Linked DNA regions of Homo sapiens: region 1 is linked to region 2. Evidence: promoter capture Hi-C in 16 types of primary human blood cells and fetal thymus (Javierre and others, 2016). All regions are on one chromosome and are shown on one strand. The core of a region is centred on a gene start or on the middle of the fragment in contact, and the rest is flanking DNA. Distances in the headings are between cores, read along the strand shown.

What was found. Contacts are between HindIII fragments. The CHiCAGO score rates a contact against its expected background, and 5 or more counts as called.
Region 1: a fragment that was not itself captured here is called in contact with the fragment with the promoter of MOGS in region 2 in 1 of 17 cell types (naive CD4 T cells); the score reaches 6.0 in naive CD4 T cells.

Annotation. Positions count from the first base shown.
Region 1 is chr2:74,250,896-74,254,304 of GRCh38, reverse strand. SLC4A5 (solute carrier family 4 member 5) reads left to right here. Exons shown (of 31, transcript NM_133478.3): 15 at 1,177-1,331; 16 at 1,917-2,126. Among named protein-coding and RNA genes, the nearest start is that of MTHFD2, 54 kb to the right of the region's middle. The HindIII fragment of the contact is 4,323 bases long and covers 1-3,409 here.
Region 2 is chr2:74,463,867-74,467,471 of GRCh38, reverse strand. MOGS (mannosyl-oligosaccharide glucosidase) reads left to right here and starts at 2,090. Exons shown (of 4, transcript NM_006302.3): 1 at 2,090-2,576; 2 at 2,750-2,976. The coding sequence starts at 2,225. RefSeq lists silencers at 1-110, 2,304-2,523. The HindIII fragment of the contact is 14,256 bases long and covers 1-3,605 here.

The DNA.
Region 1 (3,409 bases), core at 619-3,118, 210 kb after region 2:
GTGAGGCAAGCATTCCAAACAAAGGAAATGGATCAGGCTCAGAGAAGCTGGATGGAGGTGGTTTGATATAGGCTCAGTGTAAGAGCTTCAAGGGCAGGAGGTAATACTGGAGAGGTGAGCCAGAGACTACACAGAGCCTGTAAGCAGAGCTGAGTCACACTCTGTCCCCAGAGTGATGGGGAGCCTAGAGGACTTTAACTCTTTTTCCGTTTGTGCCAAGAATACTCACTGGCGGTGCTTGCGGCTGCAGGCTTTACCCTGAGATAACTTTTCCCCACGAAATGTCTCACTTTTATTATTATTTTTGCATTGCTCTTATATGTTGACTTTGGAAACAAAAGACATCATTCTACTTAAAGCATTCTGTTTTTAGTTGTGGCATTTCCATTTACAAAATACACTAACTCTCAATCATTGAAAATATCAAATCCTAGAAAACTAGCATTCCTACGAGTGATGCTAACATCATTCTCGAACAGTTTTTGGCCTAAGATTCATTTGATGAATCCAGTGTTTCCAAAATAGATGATTCTGATCATTCCAATGATTCCAATGTTAGTTCTTTTTAGAAATAATTCTAAGAATAATTTTTATATTGCATTTTCACATTGAAAATCAGTCAGATTTGCTTCGGCCTCAAAGAGTGTGTTTATGTAAAATTAAATGAGTGCTGGCAGTGAGCTGCACTTTTTTTTTTTGCCTAAATGGGAAAGGGTTAAATGTGAGCATAGTCCCATCGAATCTGTAAGTCAGAAAGCACACTCTGGAGACAGTGTGAAGAACACGGCCTGAGCCTCCAAGGGCGAAGGGCTGGAAGTAAAAAATGGTTATGAAATATCTGAGCTCCTTGGACTGGGCTCTACAAAGGTTTTCTAATATGTATGATGTGTGGAAAACTGAAAACAGAAAGGTTAAGTAACTTAACCGAAGTCCTACAAGCAAGAATATGGAGACCTGGCCTTCAGATCCAAGAGAGGCTGTCTTCCCCCAGTGCCTGCTGTGTCCCATTGTGCCATATTTTACCAATGTACTATAGTCTCATTCCAAAAACTGAGAGTGAGTTGGCAGTGGGAGATGTGGTTCAAAGGGATTCCTTTAAAAACTAGATGTGATATGCTCCCAGGCATTTCAGAAACAGACCCGATCTTTCTTTTCTCCCTCCTCTCTCCTCGCCAGCTCTTCAGTGACGTGGCCTACAAAGCCCGCAATCGGGAAGATCTGATCGCAGGAATTGATGAATTTCTGGATGAGGTCATCGTCCTTCCTCCTGGAGAATGGGACCCAAATATCCGGATTGAGCCCCCCAAGAAGGTGCCCTCTGCTGACAAGAGGTGTGTATGAGAATGGGCAGTAGGGAGAGAAAAAGGAGGCTTCAACTCTGTCGGTATCATTTTATTTCTCTTTAAAATACATCTGAGGCTCAGCATAGTGGCTCATGCCTGTAATCTCAACACTTTGGGATGCTGAGGCAGGTGGATCACTTGAGCCCAGGAGTTTGAAACCAGCCTGGGCAACATAGTGAGATCTTGTCTCTACAAAACAAAAATCAAATTAACTGGGCATGGTGGCATGCACCTATAGTCCCTGCTACTCTGGAGGCTGAGGCAGGAGGATTGATTGAGCCCAGGAGGTCAAGGCTGCAGTGAGCTGTGATCATGCCACTGTACTCCAGCCTGGGCAACAGAGTTTGACCCTGTCTCAAAATAATGTTTAAAATAAGTTTAAAAATAATAAGATATATCAGAAACAAATATGGCTAAATGTGAACATTTGTAAAATCTAGGTGACCTGCGTGTGGATATTGTTAGACAATTTTCTGCATTTTTGTCTGTCTTTTAAGATATTTCATAATTTTGGTTGGAGAGGTGAGGGGTGCTCTGGGGGACCCACTCTCCTTCATCCCCCTTCTCTTCCAGGAAATCTGTGTTCTCCCTAGCAGAGCTGGGCCAGATGAATGGCTCTGTGGGAGGAGGCGGCGGAGCTCCTGGAGGAGGCAATGGAGGTGGTGGTGGTGGTGGCAGTGGCGGCGGGGCTGGCAGTGGCGGGGCCGGCGGAACAAGCAGCGGGGATGATGGAGAGATGCCAGCCATGCATGAAATCGGGGAGGAACTTATCTGGACAGGAAGGTGCCCACCCCAGGCCTCCCAGTGACCCTGCTGTCCTTTAGACTTCTCCCTTCTCAGCTGCCCTCTAGGGACTTTTCCCAACCATGGTCTGTAGTGCCCACTCGAGGTCACCCCTGCCTTCTTTCCCTCCCAGAGCCCTTGAACCCCATCATGGATCCCCAAAAGGTTGCCTCAGGAGAGGGGAATTTGAGACCCATACAAGAGGAGAGGAACCCAAACTTTTCTCTTAGATATCCTTTGGTGCCTGTTTCCTGGGTCTGCTGTAACAAAGTACCACAAACTAGGTGGCTTAAAACCACAGAAGGTTACTCTCCTGCAGTTCTGGAGGCCAGGAGTTCCACAGCAGGTGTTGGCAGGACCACCGTGCTCCCTGAGGCTCCAGGTGGAATCCTTCCTGGCCTCCTCCTGGCTTCTGGTGGTGGCCAGCAGTCCTTGGTGTTCCTGGCTGGCAGCCGCATCACCCCCGGCTCTGCCTCTCCACCACATGGCCTCCTGTGTGTCTGTCTTCACAGAGCACTTTCCTCTTTGTGTATGGACCCCAGTCATGTTGGAATAGGGCCCACCATAATGACTTAATCTAAACTGGATTACATTTGCATAGGTGTTACATAGATGTTAGGACCTTAATATATCTTTTGGGGGGACACAACTCAATAACAGTACCTTTTTTAAAACTTAATTTACCTATTCAAAAACTTTTTTTTTTTTTAAAGAAAATAAGAGAAAGTTCTCCTGGCCTGGGTTTCTTTTCCAGCTCTTGGAGTCATTCAGGTTGATCTAGATTTAGGAAAGGATGTGGCCTTGAAAATCTACATATAAATCATGACTTTGAGAATGAAGTCATGTTTTATATGCCCTTGGCTTTATACCAGTGGTTCTCACTGTAAGCAGCTTTGGCCCTCCTTAGTCCCCCTACCCCCGAGCCCAGGGAATTTGGCAATGTCCAGAGACATTTTTGCTTGTCACAACCGGAGAGGGGAGATGCTACTCGCATCTAGTAGGTAGCTGCTAAACATCCTGCAGTGCATGGGACAGCCCCTGCAGCAAAGGAGTATCCAGTCCAAAATATCAGCAGAACTGAGGTTGAGAAACTCTGCTCCATGCTAAGGACTGCATTAGGGGCTATGGGAATAGCAATCCCAGTAAACAGTGTCTCCAAACCTAAAATCTTCCACTCAGCTGTTCCAGATAGCAAAATCAAAAAACAAACAAATACCAACCAGTTATAAGGTTTAGGATCTGTTCTTAATGAATCTGTTATAATCTGGGATGCTTCTGTCACC
Region 2 (3,605 bases), core at 841-3,340:
TTTTTCCCCTCCCCCTTTAAAAAAGAAAGCTAGGAGGAGGCAGTATAGTGTTGTAATGAGCCAGACTGCTTGGGGTTGAGATCCTAGCTTTGTTTTTATGTAGCTGTATGACTTTAGACAAATTATTTAATCTATCAGTGCTTATTTCATTTGTAAAATGAAAATAATAGTACTTTTCTCATAGGACTGTTAAGGAGATTAAATGAATTAATATCTGTAAAGTACCTAAAACATTGCTGGGAGTGTAGTAACTGCTGTTATCTAAGAGGCCTTATTTATTCTTTTTTTTTTTTTTTTTTTTTTTTGAGACAAGAGTTTCGCTCTTGTTGCCCAGGCTGGAGTGCAATGGCACAATCTTGGCTCACTGCAATCTCTGCCTCCCGGGTTCAAGTGATTCTCCTGCCTCAGTGTCACGAGTAGCTGGGATTACAGGCATGCACCACCATGCCCAGATAATTTTGTATTTTTTAGTAGAGACGGGGTTTCTCCATGTCGGTCAGGCTGGTCTCGAACTCCCAGCCTCAGGTGATCCGCCCGCCTTTGCCTCCCAAAGTGCTGGGACTACAGGCTTGAGCCACTGCGCCTGCCCTAAGAGGCCTTATTCTAAAGTCAAAAGAACAACCTGGATTTGAGTTCCCCAGCTCCATAATTAACTGGCTGTTATTTTGGGTCAGTCTTAACTACTCTCCTCATCTGTAAAAATGGGGGTGGTCTGGCCAGGCGCGGTGGCTCACGCCTGTAATCCCAGCACTTTGGGAGGCCGAGGTGGGTGGATCACCTGAGGTCAGGAGTTCGAGACCAGCCTGGCAAACCTGGTGAAACTCCATCTCTACTAAAAATACAAAAATTAGCTGGGCGTGGTGGTGGGCACCTGTAATCCCAGCTACTCGTGAGGCTGAGGCAGGAGAATCACTTGAACCCTGGAGGCAGAGGTTGCAGTGAGCCGAGATCATGCCATTGCACTCCAGCCTGGTGACAGAGCGAGACTCCGTCTCAAAAAAAAAAAAAAAAAAAAAATGGGTATGGTTCAACATGCATTGAGTGCTGGCATTGTGCTTCTAGACTGTGAACTTGAGGTTGGGGCCATTTTCTCTGAGTCCCCAGCACCTTGCATAATGCGATATAGGGTGTACAATAAACATGTGTTGAATTTATAAATATTTAGCATCTGCCTTATGCCTATAATTGATTAGTACTGTGATACAAAGATGAAAAATGAAACAGGTATGTAATAAGTGCTACAATAAGGATGTCGACAAATGCAACGGTAGCAAGAAAGACAAAAACAGGACTAACCATTGGGTTTGGTCAGATGATTTCATAAGCAAAAAGTCTACCACTAGTGGAGAGTGGGGCCACCAGTCAGATTATAGTGAAATATAAGTGGTCGTGTTGCATAAAGCATCAGTCTCTCTCTCTCTCTCTCTCTCTCCCTCCGTCCCTCCCTCCCTCCCTCCATCTCTCTCTCTCTCTCTCTTTCTTTTTTTTTGAAACAGTTTCACTCTTGTTGCCCAAGCTGGAGTGCAATGGCGCAATATCGGCTCACTGCAACCTCCGCCTCCCAGGTTCAAGCAATTCTCCTGCCTCAGCCTCCCGAATAGCTGGGATTACAGGCACCCACCACCACACCCGGCTAATTTTTGTATTTTTAGTAGAGATGGGGTTTCACCAAGTTGACCAGGCTGGTCTCCAACTCCTCATGTCTGGTGATCCACCTGCCTCGGCCTCCCAAAGTGCTGGGATTACAGATGTGCGCCTCGGTGCCTGGCCACATCAGTCTTTTTTTTTTTTTTTTGAGACGAAGTCTCGCTCTGTCGCCCAGGCTGGAGTGCAGTGGCACAATCTCGGCTCACTGCAACCTCCGCCTCCCGGGTTCAAACGATTCTCATGCCTCAGCCCAACGTTAGATTGGTTTTTCCGAGCCTGTGAACTCCATGGGGTCGCCAGATAAACGCAATCCCGGTGGACCAACGCCCAGGACAGACGCTACGTACCAACCCTGTGTCAAGCCGCAGGCAGCGGTTCCGGACTCTGGGACTTAACCTAACGTGGCGGGGCGGGACTTCCGGCGGGAGGCGGAGGCGGAGGCGCAGGCGCTGGCTGGCAGGTGTCGCTAACCGGACGGTGGTCGCCAGGGCGAGAGGCGGGAGCCGGAGAGGTGAGGCAGGACCCGGGCTCCACTGCCGCCTCTCCGAGCTCTTGTGACGCGGACCTCAGTGCCAGGATGGCTCGGGGCGAGCGGCGGCGCCGCGCAGTGCCGGCAGAGGGAGTGCGGACAGCCGAGAGGGCGGCTCGGGGAGGCCCCGGGCGACGGGACGGCCGGGGCGGCGGGCCGCGTAGCACGGCTGGAGGAGTGGCTCTGGCCGTCGTGGTCCTGTCTTTGGCCCTGGGTATGTCGGGGCGCTGGGTGCTGGCGTGGTACCGTGCGCGGCGGGCGGTCACGCTGCACTCCGCGCCTCCTGTGTTGCCTGCCGACTCCTCCAGCCCCGCCGTGGCCCCGGACCTCTTCTGGGGAACCTACCGCCCTCACGTCTACTTCGGCATGAAGACCCGCAGCCCGAAGCCCCTCCTCACCGGTAACCGGGCCCCAGGGCGGGCAGGCAGGCGGACTCCTAATCTGGGCGCCCCAGCTTGAAGCGAGAGCAAGGGTGGGAAGGAATGGATCAGGAGAGTTATGAAGAGGGATGACCCGGAGACCCGGAGGGACAGGTCCCCTGCTCTTTGACTTACGTGGCCATTCTACCCCCAGGACTGATGTGGGCGCAGCAGGGCACCACCCCGGGGACTCCTAAGCTCAGGCACACGTGTGAGCAGGGGGACGGTGTGGGTCCCTATGGCTGGGAGTTCCACGACGGCCTCTCCTTCGGGCGCCAACACATCCAGGATGGGGCCTTAAGGCTCACCACTGAGTTCGTCAAGAGGCCTGGGGGTCAGCACGGAGGGGACTGGAGCTGGAGAGTGACTGTAGAGCCTCAGGTCAGGGCCTCAGGACACCCTTTTCTCAGCCCAGACCCCCTCCATCCTTCCCTTGCTGCCAGCAAATGCAGCATGAAGTGGGCTCTGGCTGCCTGGCTTAAATCCTGCCTTAAACAACTGCCTGTATAACCATTTCTATTTACCATCTCTAAGCCTTGATTTCCTTGCTTGTAAAATGTACAATGTAGATAATAATAGCACTTAACTCACAGGACTGTAAGAATTAAATGAAAAAGAGGCTGGGCGCGGTGGCTCACGCCTGTAATCCCAGTACTTTGGGAGGCCGAGGCTGGCGGATCACCTGAGGTCAGGAGTTCCAGACCAGCCTGACCAAAATGGAGAAACACCGTCTCTACTGAAAATATAAAATTAGCCGGGCGTGGTGGCGCATGCCTGTGATCCAAGCTACTTGGGAGGCTGAGGCAGGAGAATTGCTTGAACCAGGGAGGTGGAGGTTGCGCTGAGCCGAGATCGTGCCATTGCACTCCAGCCTGGGCAACAAGAGCAAAACTCCATCTCAAGAAAAAAAAAAAAGCCAGGCGCGGTGGCTCACGCCTGTAATCCCAGCACTTTGGGAGGCTGAGGCGGGCGGATCATGAGGTCAGGAGATGGAGACCATCCTGGCTAAC